Linked DNA regions of Homo sapiens: all the other regions are linked to region 2. The links are contacts of gene promoters, found by promoter capture Hi-C in blood cells and fetal thymus (Javierre and others, 2016). All regions are on one chromosome and are shown on one strand. Each heading gives the region's core, a stretch centred on a gene start or on the middle of the fragment in contact. The rest is flanking DNA. Distances are from core to core; before and after follow the strand shown.

The links. The method cuts DNA at HindIII sites, captures the fragments that hold promoters and counts their contacts. A CHiCAGO score of 5 or more calls a contact.
Region 1: a contact is called between a fragment that was not itself captured here and the fragment with the promoter of CNNM3 in region 2, in 4 of 17 cell types (activated CD4 T cells, total CD8 T cells, total CD4 T cells and 1 more). The highest score is 8.4, in activated CD4 T cells.
Region 3: a contact is called between a fragment that was not itself captured here and the fragment with the promoter of CNNM3 in region 2, in 3 of 17 cell types (neutrophils, activated CD4 T cells and monocytes). The highest score is 7.4, in neutrophils.

The regions. Positions count from the first base shown.
Region 1 is chr2:96,289,682-96,293,169 of GRCh38, reverse strand. SNRNP200 (small nuclear ribonucleoprotein U5 subunit 200) reads left to right here. Exons shown (of 45, transcript NM_014014.5): 16 at 75-198; 17 at 1,270-1,419; 18 at 1,668-1,778; 19 at 2,355-2,486; 20 at 2,656-2,844; 21 at 3,174-3,371. Among named protein-coding and RNA genes, the nearest start is that of SNRNP200, 14 kb to the left of the region's middle. The HindIII fragment of the contact is 3,084 bases long and covers 1-2,792 here.
Region 2 is chr2:96,814,285-96,817,987 of GRCh38, reverse strand. It overlaps CNNM3 (cyclin and CBS domain divalent metal cation transport mediator 3), which reads right to left and starts at 1,720. Exons shown (of 8, transcript NM_017623.5): 1 at 486-1,720. The coding sequence starts at 1,710. RefSeq lists silencers at 864-973, 984-1,123, 1,134-2,113 and an enhancer at 2,454-2,573. The HindIII fragment of the contact is 9,370 bases long and covers 1-3,703 here.
Region 3 is chr2:96,199,240-96,202,773 of GRCh38, reverse strand. The region is part of intron 1 of STARD7 (StAR related lipid transfer domain containing 7); the gene reads left to right. Among named protein-coding and RNA genes, the nearest start is that of STARD7-AS1, 7.4 kb to the left of the region's middle. The HindIII fragment of the contact is 1,052 bases long and covers 743-1,794 here.

The DNA of each region.
Region 1 (3,488 bases), core at 1-2,500, 520 kb after region 2:
GGCAGTGAAAAAGACTGTTTATTCCCACAGTATTTTCTGCCAAAGCCTCATTTGTCTAACTGTTGAACTTCTAGCTTCCGTCCAGTGCCTCTGGAACAGACATATGTGGGTATCACAGAGAAAAAAGCTATCAAGCGTTTCCAGATCATGAATGAAATCGTCTATGAAAAAATCATGGAACATGCTGGAAAAAATCAGGTTTGCCCGTGGTTTATGGTTACTCTTGAACCCCATTCTTTCGAATGTTTGATTCACCAATAATTGGGGAAGATTGACAGAAATTAAAAGAGAGAAGACACAACATAAATCACCAATATCAGCTATGAAATGGGATATTACTACAGAACCTATAGCCACTGGAAGGATAATAAGGGAATACTATGAGTAATTTTATGCTCATAACTTTAAAAATTCAGAAGAAATGGACCAGTTCTCCAACAACTACCAGTTAACTAGCAAAACTCAGCCCAGATGAAATAGATAACATGAAGAGCCCTACAACTATTAGAGAGTTGGAGAATTAAAAATCCCCCCAGCAAGCAATCCCCAGTCCCAGATAATTGTTTTGTGCATTCGCATTATCCAGGGTCCCTCCATAAAAGATTTGGGGTCACTTACACTAAAAATGCAAGACAATAAAAAGAGGAAAATGAAAAACTAGAGGGCATTTTACTAGACAGTGTGATAGAATTTTTAAATTGAAAGTCGAGTTGAGCAATGTTAACTAACAAAAAATAAGGAAAAGTGACTGGTTTTGTATTTCTTTTTGTCTGATGAAAAGAAGCATATGAATTTATATGAAGAGACAGATCTTTTCTTGGCACTAAATACTAGGAAGACTTCATTCCCTACAACAGTGTACTAGTCTCAGACTTATTTCCTAAATCCTTTTATAAGTAGTGTAATGTTTTAGTTGTTATTTTGCAGACACATTTTCATGCAGCTTTGACTCTTGTTAGGTGCTTGAACATAAATTCTGAGTTGAGAGGCCCGAATTTGTAGTTGTAGTCTATTTAAAGTTGCTGTTCAAGATAGGATGTTGAAGTTGGTTTAATTTCTCAGCTCCAGGACTGTGAACTTGGTGGGTGCATTCCCTTAAAAGTCTTTCCAGCCGTGTTTAGGCTTCCTCTGAGCCTGCACACATTCCTGCCCTTGCCCCTCTCCAGGACCTTGGCTTCTGGTGGTGATGGTGCAACTTCTGCTTCCTGCTGCAGGTGCCCTGGGGCTGTGAGTATCTCGTGACTGTAGCAAACTGTGGCTTCTCCTTAGGTGCTGGTGTTTGTCCACTCCCGGAAGGAGACTGGAAAGACAGCCAGGGCCATCCGGGACATGTGCCTAGAAAAGGACACTCTGGGTCTGTTTCTGAGGGAGGGCTCAGCCTCCACAGAAGTCCTGCGAACAGAAGCTGAGCAGTGCAAGGTGAGGAGGGGCCAGCTGGGTTCTCTCATTCCTACCTGGCAGCTGTGTCCATCTCAGGCCCCAGACAGCTCCTCTAGGACTGTACTGTGGTATTGTTGTTTCCCATGGGTTAAGGTTGATTGTCTGGATGTGATTATTACTATTCCACATAATAGTTAAGGGGCAGGGTCTCATGGGAGGAGATTTCCTTAGTCCTTGGATGAGTCCTACAGGAAGGCTCGCCTCATCCCCGGTTCTTTGTTCCACAGAACCTAGAGCTGAAGGATCTTCTGCCTTATGGCTTTGCTATTCATCACGCAGGCATGACCAGGGTTGACCGAACACTCGTGGAGGATCTTTTTGCTGATAAACATATTCAGGTGAGGGGGTGCAAAGCGTTTGGAGGAGCAGGTGGGACATACTTCAGAAGATGGGCAATGTCAAGTTTGTGCCATGTTTGCTCCTGGTACTTTATTGCTTCTGGCCCAGCTAGCCCAGGTCAGAGGGTTGTGGTGGACACAATAAATAGAACCTTATGCTACTCTCCCAACTCTTCCCACCTTGCTTGAGTTTAGGATAGTCTGAGAAGCATAGTGAAGCAAGCACTTTGGTGACTTCAGATAGCTCCAAACAGTGTCTCATGGGGGCACGCGTGCCCTTGTCGTTCCCTCTTTCCGGATAGGCTCTGTTTTACCTTTTCTAGTAACTTTAAGGTTGTTTAATACAAGTCTGCACTTGTGCCTCTGGAACCTTGAAATGTTCATTACTGAATAGATGAGGAACCCAAGGAAACCTTTCCTCTTTATTCTGGTGTCACATTGACAAGTACTGGGACCCCACGCGCCCTACCGGCTAGTCCTGAGAGAAGCTCTGAGGCCAACTGCCTAGAGAAGCCAGGGATATTAACCCCTGGTGATGGCATCTGTTCTCCTCATTACCTTGTTTTGCCTCTGTAGGTTTTAGTTTCCACAGCAACTCTAGCTTGGGGTGTGAATCTCCCTGCACATACAGTCATCATCAAAGGCACCCAGGTGTACAGTCCAGAGAAGGGGCGTTGGACAGAACTGGGAGCACTGGACATTCTGCAGGTACAGAGCCTTTTGAGTTTATTCTCAGCAGGGATCAGTATCCTTGCCTGAAATGCAGGGATGCTGGAAAGCTAGCAGATCAGAGGTCTAGTTCTGTAATGTAGATACCTGCATCAAAATTCAGACATTCTCTTGACATAGCATTCTTGGTTCGCTGTCTCTGATCTAGATGCTGGGACGTGCCGGAAGACCCCAGTATGACACCAAGGGTGAAGGCATACTCATCACATCTCATGGGGAGCTACAGTACTACCTGTCCCTCCTCAATCAACAACTTCCTATTGAAAGCCAGATGGTTTCAAAGCTTCCTGACATGCTCAATGCAGAAATCGTGCTAGGAAATGTCCAGAATGCCAAGGTAGGGGAGGACTGCTTGTTGTGCTTCATGCTTTCCCCGCAGACACCAAGGCACCAGGAGTGGGTCGGTCCCTATTGTGCTGCGGGCCAGCAGCGTCCGAGGCCTTCCATCCCTGCACCCACATCTTGGGTCTGGCAGATAGTTCCCCTTGTTACCAAGATCTTAGAAGACGCTTAGATCTTTTTAATAATGAAATGCTAAAAACATTCAGAATACGATGTAATATGCATCCTTGTAGTTGGGAATTAATTTCTAAGCAATTCATGGGAGCCTGTCATTTGGACATCAAGAGTTTCTCCATGCTAAGAACCATGAGCTGTGTCTTGTAGGATGCGGTGAACTGGCTGGGCTATGCCTACCTCTATATCCGAATGCTGCGATCCCCAACCCTCTATGGCATCTCTCATGATGACCTCAAGGGAGATCCCCTGCTGGACCAGCGCCGACTAGATCTGGTTCATACAGCTGCCCTGATGCTGGACAAGAACAATCTGGTCAAGTACGACAAGAAGACGGGCAACTTCCAGGTGCGTGGGGTGAGGGTTTTGAGGCAAAGGTCTCAGCAAAAGTTGTTGGCCCAGGAAAAAATTTTTCAGATTGCTCTCTTGATGTGAGTACTGCCTATCTAATCACCTGTTGCTTAG
Region 2 (3,703 bases), core at 471-2,970:
CCTTAAGAATGCTCTGAAGGAAACATTACAGGTCCAGTCAATTTGATATTACATGTGTGCACACAACAATATCCCAGATACCTGGAGACTACCATCTTTTCTATGTTCTTCTAGTTTCTATCCAAAAATTTGGACCTGCTACAAAGTCAAGCACACAGAAACACTCTGGGAGAGGGAAAGAGCTGGGGGATTAGAGGACAAGCGGACATACCCCTCCCTGCAAATGGGGGGGGGGGGCTATCCTGACGCGGGGGTTAAAGTGTTCGCTGTCTAAAGGATTCCTCCCACTCTGATCGATGGCCTTTAAGTATTTCAAAAGGTCATTCCAAGCTGCAAGGCCAATACCGTCTTGAAAAGGGACCTTAGAGGTCTCACTGCTCTCCACAGGGGTGGGACCCTTTCCAGAAGGCTTCCATAACTCTCCACCCCTTTTCAGGGAGAGGGCACTCGCACGGGCGTCCCCTGCACCATGCCCGGGCCGTTACCTCGCTTGAATTCCTCCAGGACAGCGTCCAGCTTGGTGTCGTTGAAGACGAAGTGGAGCGGATGGTTGTAGAAACGAGTGATGGTGCTGAGCGGCGTGCAGTCTTCGGGATCCACGAAGGCCAAGTCCTTGAGGTAGAGCATGTCCACGATGTTGGAGCGCTCCTCCTCGTACACCGGGATGCGCGTGTGGCCGCTCTGCATGATGCTGGCCAGGACGCCGAAGTCCAGCACGGTGCTGGCGTCCAGCATGAAGCAGTCTTCGAGGGGCGTGAGCACGTCCTCCACGGTCCGGCAGCGCAGCACGCCCTTGCTGAGATCGCTGTAGGGGTCGCCGCCGCCGCGCGCCAGCTCCAGCACCCGCTCCCGCAGCCGCCCGGGCCGCGCCGCCAGCTCCAGCAGCTGCCCCACGGGCAGCGCGACGGGCAGAGTGAGCAGGACGGCCAGGCGGCTGAGGCCGAGCGCTCGCGGCGCCAGCGCCAGCGTCCAGCGCCCGCTCACGGCGGCCGGCACCACCTCTCCCACCAGGAACACGAGCCCCGCGCTGCCCAACACGGCGGGCACCGCACGCTGGCCGGCCGCGCGGTACAGCAGCACCGCCAGCGCCGCCTGCGCCAGGCTGGCCAGCAGCAGCAGCGCGCCCAAGGCGCAGCCGGCCCAGCGCCGCGCGGGCTCCAAACGCCGCGCCGCCGCACGCTCCGCCTCCGAGCCGCTCTCGCGCAGCACCTGCACCTCGGCAGGCGCCAGCGCCAGCGCGCTCAGCTGCAGGCCTCGCGCCAGCGCTGCCAGCGCCAGCAGCCCGGCCGCCCCCAGGCCCAGAGCCCAGGGCGGCGCCGCCTCCTCAGCCGCCCCGCCACCCGGCTCCACGCGCACCGCCAGCAGCGCCGAGTGCGGGCGCACGGCCTCGGCCCGCAGGCGCAAGCGCAGCAGCGCGCGCCACTCGCCCGCGGGGGAGGCCGCCTCCTCCCGGCAGCCCGCCCCCTCCGGGGCCACCCAGGACCAAGAGCTGTTGGCGAAGCCCGGGCCGAAGAGGCGCAGGAGGAAGGTGGCGTCCGGCGTGTCCCGCGCCGCCCCTCCGCGTACCCAACCCGCGCCCGCCGCTCCATCCTCCTCCAGGCAGAAGCCCAGCACTCGCGGGCCCGGCGCGGCCTCCCCCGCGGCGTTGCCCAGGCAGAGCGCGGCGAACAACCAGCCTAACCGACCCGCCGCAGCTACCGCCGCCGCCATCGCCTGCTGCCCCCTCTCGGCCTCTCGCGCAGCCTACCCCGCTCGCCCCGCGCCTCCCCGGGCCAATCGTTACGGCTCTTCGCGCCTCCTCGGCCAATAGGCGGTGGGCGGGGGCGGGCCCCAGGGTCGGACTAGGCTGCGCCGGGGAGTAAACAAGTGGCGGCCAGGGGCGGGCCGGGGGCGTGGGGCTCCGGGCCCCGCCGAGTCTGCTGCGGCTCCGGATGCGCGGGGTGGCAGTGGCCGGGAGGACGCGGGGCGGCGGGCAGGGCCTCCCAAGCCCGGCTGTCCTCGGCCCGTGCGCGGCGCCCGGAGTCCCACTCCTCCCGATGCTGTCCCCCGCGCCCGGAGGCCGAGCCAATTCTCTGGGAAGTTCCCGGCTTGGGAGCGGAGCGGCCGGTCGGAAGAACCTCGGGTGCTGGCGCGCCTGAAGTTGCAGACCAGACTGAAATGTGCGAGACATGTGCCTTTTTCTTAGGAAAGGCCCCAGGTACCAGAAAGGTTTTCAGCGCGCCGACCTACGGGGCTAAGAGGGCTGAAATAAGAACCAGTGACTGAGCGCCGGGAGGTTTAAGGTTTATGGAAGATGTTCATCGCGCCGTACCCTACTAGAGGTTTGGGGACGTGGGACACAGCCCCTGCGTTCCCGCCGCGGACCCCGTGATAAATACACAGACACACAAAATCACTACCGCCTTGAATCTGGACAGCTACCTCAGGTGGTTAATATCTAACAGGAGCAGAGTGGAGCTCAGAAAGACTCAGCGTGGGTGCTGGGTTCCGGCGCGACCAGCCTGATACCTAGGTCAGCATCTCAGCCACACAAGCAGGCGGCAGTTCTGTCAGGAATTACTACATCTGGTGATTCCACTTCTCATAGCTCACCGCTGGGAGAATAATTCCTCAGGATTAACAAGATCTATTCCAGAGGATCCTCACTGCTGAAGCGATTTTAGAAGACAGTGTGGTCTGTTGACAGTATGGAATATTCTTTACCCATCAGATATGATCTGTATGTGATTGGAAGGAAATAAACCAACTGCTAACAACACTTCTCTATAGATGTTCAGATTCAGTAATTTTTGTATTTTTCTCTACACTTTTGTTTTTTCAAATTTCCTAGCACAAGAAGACTTTGACTTACTGCACATGTCATTTTAAATGACCTTTATAAAGACTCTATAGAAACAATTTGCTATGTCATGAAAGTAACAATCAAAAAAAGTATGCACATTGTGGCCACAAAGTAAAACTTGTGTGGAAGGTAATGTGCAAAAAAAAAAAAAAATGAGTAAGCTGGTGGTGAGTGACCAAAGGAAAAGGCTTTGTAAAAAACTTTTTTTTTTTTTTTTGAGACGGAGTCTCGCTCTGTCACCCAGGCTGGAGTGCAGTGACGCAGTCTCGGCTCACTGCAAGCTCCGCCTCCCGGGTTCACGCCATTCTCCTGCCTCAGCCTCTCCGAGTAGCTGGGACTACAGGCGCCCGCCACCACGCCCGGCTAATTTTTTTGTATTTTTAGTAGAGACGGGGTTTCACCGTGGTCTCGATCTCCTGACCTCGTGATCCACCCACCTTGGCCTCCCAAAGTGCTGGGATTACAAGCGTGAGCCACCGCGCCCGGCCTGTAAAAAACTTTTTAAAAGATGGTAATAGCTGGCCGGGCACGGTGGCTCACGCCTGTAATCCCAGCACTTTGGGAGGCGGAGGCGGGCGGATCACGAGGTCAGGAGATCGAGACCATCCGGACTAACATGGTGAAACCCCATCTGTACTAAAAATACAAAAAATTAGCCAGGTGTGGTGGCGTGCACCTGTAGTCCCAGCTACTCGGGAGGCTGAGGCAGGAGAATGGTGTGAACCCGGGAGGCGGAGCTTGCAGTGAGCTGAGACCACGCCACTGCACTCCAGCCTGGGCGACAGAGCAAGACTATGTCTCAAAAAAAAAAAAATGGTAATAGTGGCCCGGCGCGGTGGCTCATGCCTGTAATCCCAGCAC
Region 3 (3,534 bases), core at 19-2,518, 610 kb after region 2:
ATTATGTGGCAAGAATGATAATTCGGGCCAGGTGTTGTGGCATGTGCCTGTACTTGGGAGGCTGGAGGATCACTTGAGCCCAGGAATTTGAGGCCAGCTTGGGCAATGAAGAAAAAAATTTTTTTTAAAGAATGACACTCAAGAGTTGTGCTTAGTTATTGTTGAAGGATGCTTTATAGACCTCAAAAATGCTGTAATCGATGCCCTATGGTGCCTGATTGTTCTCTGAGCAAATCTAGCTATGGTTTTGCTTTTGCTCTTCTTCTGCAACATCTAAATGCCTATCCTAAGGTTCCTTCTCTGTTTCTCTATGGTTTTGCAGCTGGTCAGGGTTCTTGGTTGTAACAAAGAAACTGGTCTTGGTTAATTTAAGCCAAAAAGGAATTAATCAAAACGGTATTAGGTCACTCAGTATTGACAAGGCCAGGGTACAGGTTGACCAAGACCTGCAGCAGGAATAATCTACTTAGAGCAGTGTTGCTGGCATTCTTTCCCCCAGATTGGTTGTACTCCTGGACTCCCAGCTCCCTCAAGATCCTGTGCCTTTGTGTTATCTTCAAGATGCAAAGCCCCTTCTAGAAGTCTCTAACCTCACTTAAATTAGGAGCTGTGCTTTAACTGCTTGTGGGCGGGAGGGGGGCTGCATTCACCTATTTGGGTTCTTTCCAAATAGAAAGGGATTTCAGGCAGTCAAAATGACAAATATTCCCCTATATAAATATTTTCATCCAAGTCCAAAGCTTAAAATTCAGCAAATTCAATTTTAGAACTAATAGGACTTCAAGAAATAACGTCCTCACTTTAAAGGTAAAATAAAATAAGATCACACAGCTGGTCAGCTGTAGAGCCAGGACTAGAACACAAATCTTTAGACTTACCATTATTTTGAATTGCTCTAAACTTTTAATCTTGGATTGACACTATACCTTTGAATTTTTGGCTTTTGCAGCAATATATTAATGCAATATATATATATTTTTGAGACAGTTTCACTCTCACCCAGGCTGGAGTGCAGTGGCACGATCTCAACTCACTGCAACCTCCATCTCCTGGGTTCAACAGATTCTTGTGCCTCAGCCTGCTGAGTAGCTGGGATTACAGGCGCAGGCCACCATGCCTGGCTAATTTTTTTTTGTAGTGCTGGGATTACAGGTGTGAGCCGTTGCACCTGGCCAATTTTTTTTTTTTTTTAAGAGTCTTACTCTGTTGCCAGGCTGGAGTGCAGTGGCATGATTTTGGCTCGCTACAGTCCCGACCTCCAGGGCTCAGGTGATTCTCCCACCTCTGCCTCCTCAGTAGCTGGGACTACAGCTGCATGCCACTACGCCCAGCTATTTGTTGTGTAATTTTTTTTTTTTTTTTTTAGAGGTGGAGTTTTGCATGTTGCCCAGGCTGGTCTTGAAGTCCTGGGCTCAAGTGATCTGCTCACCTTAGCCTCCCAAAATGCTGAGGATTATAGGCGTGAACCACTGCCCCAGGCCTTAATGCAATCTTTTAATAAAAATTTGGATTACTGAGGCCTATTTTCATTTTATTATTTCTTGATTTACTAAATTTATTCATGTAATGTATGTAATGTTTACCAGGACATGTAATGTTTACCAGGACATGCTAGGAGCTGGAACTACAAATATGAAAAAGACTGATTCTGGGCTATTAAGGAATTTATAGTTTAGTAAGGAAAGCAGATATAAAGATAGATTAATTATAGTGTAATATGCCTGTGTAAAGGAATAAAAATCAGTGTGTATGGTTAACTCTGCCTAGCAGTTACCTTTGTGGTTTTTTGAAGCTTGAAGGGTGAAAAGGCATTTCAGACAGTGTAGCAGTAATTTGGGTCTTCTTCAGTCTTGAATTGCAATAGAGTGTATAAGACAGCCAGCCAGCAATTTTTGTTTCTTATCTGTAACCTTTCTTTAAATGTTGCAGGGGGTAGGGTGAGGTGGAGGGCACGGAGAAGCTGGGTATGGTAGCACACGCCTATTGTGCCAGCTACTTGGGAGGCTGAAGTGAAAGGATCTCTTAAGCCCAGGAATTTGAGGCCAGTTTCGGCGACATAGTGAGACTTTGTCTCAAAAAAGAAGAGGTTATGGGAAAAATACAAGCCAAGTTTTAAAAAATTATTATTATAAAATGTTTCAGATATATAAAAAAGGTTTAAATAATAACACGAGCGTTGCAAGTACAGCTATGTTAAGAAATAAGATATTACAAGTATACTTAGGGTTCCTCTGTACCTTTTTCCAGTTGTATTCTTATTTTTCCCCAAGATGTCACCATTATCCCAATTTGTTGTATATAATTCCCTATGTTTTTATACATATGTATATACCCCTGAATGATACATAGTGATACATAGTACAATATATGGTGGTGTTTTTCATGTTTTAAAACTTTTTGCAGCCGGTGAGTCCCGCCTGGAATCCCAGCACTTTGGGAGGCCCAGGCTAGTGGATCACTTGAGGCCAGGAGTTCAACACCAGCCTGGGCAACATGGTGCAACCCCATCTCTACTAAAAATACAGAAAACAAATTAGCTGCATGTGGTGGTGCTTGTCTGTAGTCCCAGCTACTTGGGAAGCTGAAGTGGGAGAATCACCTGAGCTTGGGGAGTTAAGGCTGTAGTGAGCTGTGATTATGCCACTGCACTCTAGCCTGGGCTCAGAACAAACAAAAAAAAACCACACAACTTTTCGCAGTCCTGAACAAAATACTAACAAACTGAACTCAGCAATATATGAAATGGATTATATGCCATGAAAAGTAGGATTTATTTAAGGAACGGCAAGGTCGGTTCTTCATACAAAAATCAATTTATTACACCATATTAATAGAAAAAAGGACAAAAACTGCGTGATCATCTGAATAAACACAAAAAGTATTTGACAAATTCCAGCCTCCTTTTGTGATTAAAAAAGAAAACACTCAGCAGACTGGGAATAGAAGGAAATTTCTTGCAGCTGATAAAAGGCATCTACAAAAAACATAGCTAACAGTGTAGTTAATGGCAAAAGACTTAGTGCTTTTCTCCTAAGATCAGGAACAAGATGAGGATTCTGCTCTCACCATTTCTGTTCAACATTGTACTGGAGGTCATAACCAATGAAATCAGGCAACATAAGGAAATGAAAGTCATTTAGATTGGAAAGAAGAAATAAAACTATCTCTATTTGCAGCTGACATGATCTTATATTTAGAAAATAGTAAGGAATCTACAGAAAGCAATTAGAGCTGATAAATGAGTTCATCAAGTTTGCAGGATACAAGATCAATACACGGAAGTCATGTTTATGTACACTAACAATGAATCTGAAAATAAAATTAACAATTTCATTTACAGTAGCATAAAAGGAATAAATACATACGAATAAATTAACAAGTGTACAACTAAAACTGTAACACTAAAAACAACAAAACATCATTGGAAGAAATTTAAAAAGACATAAGTGAAAGACATCCCGTGTTCATGGATTAGATTAGAACACTTAATATTGCTAAGATGGCAATACCACTTAAAGTGATCTACAAATTCAG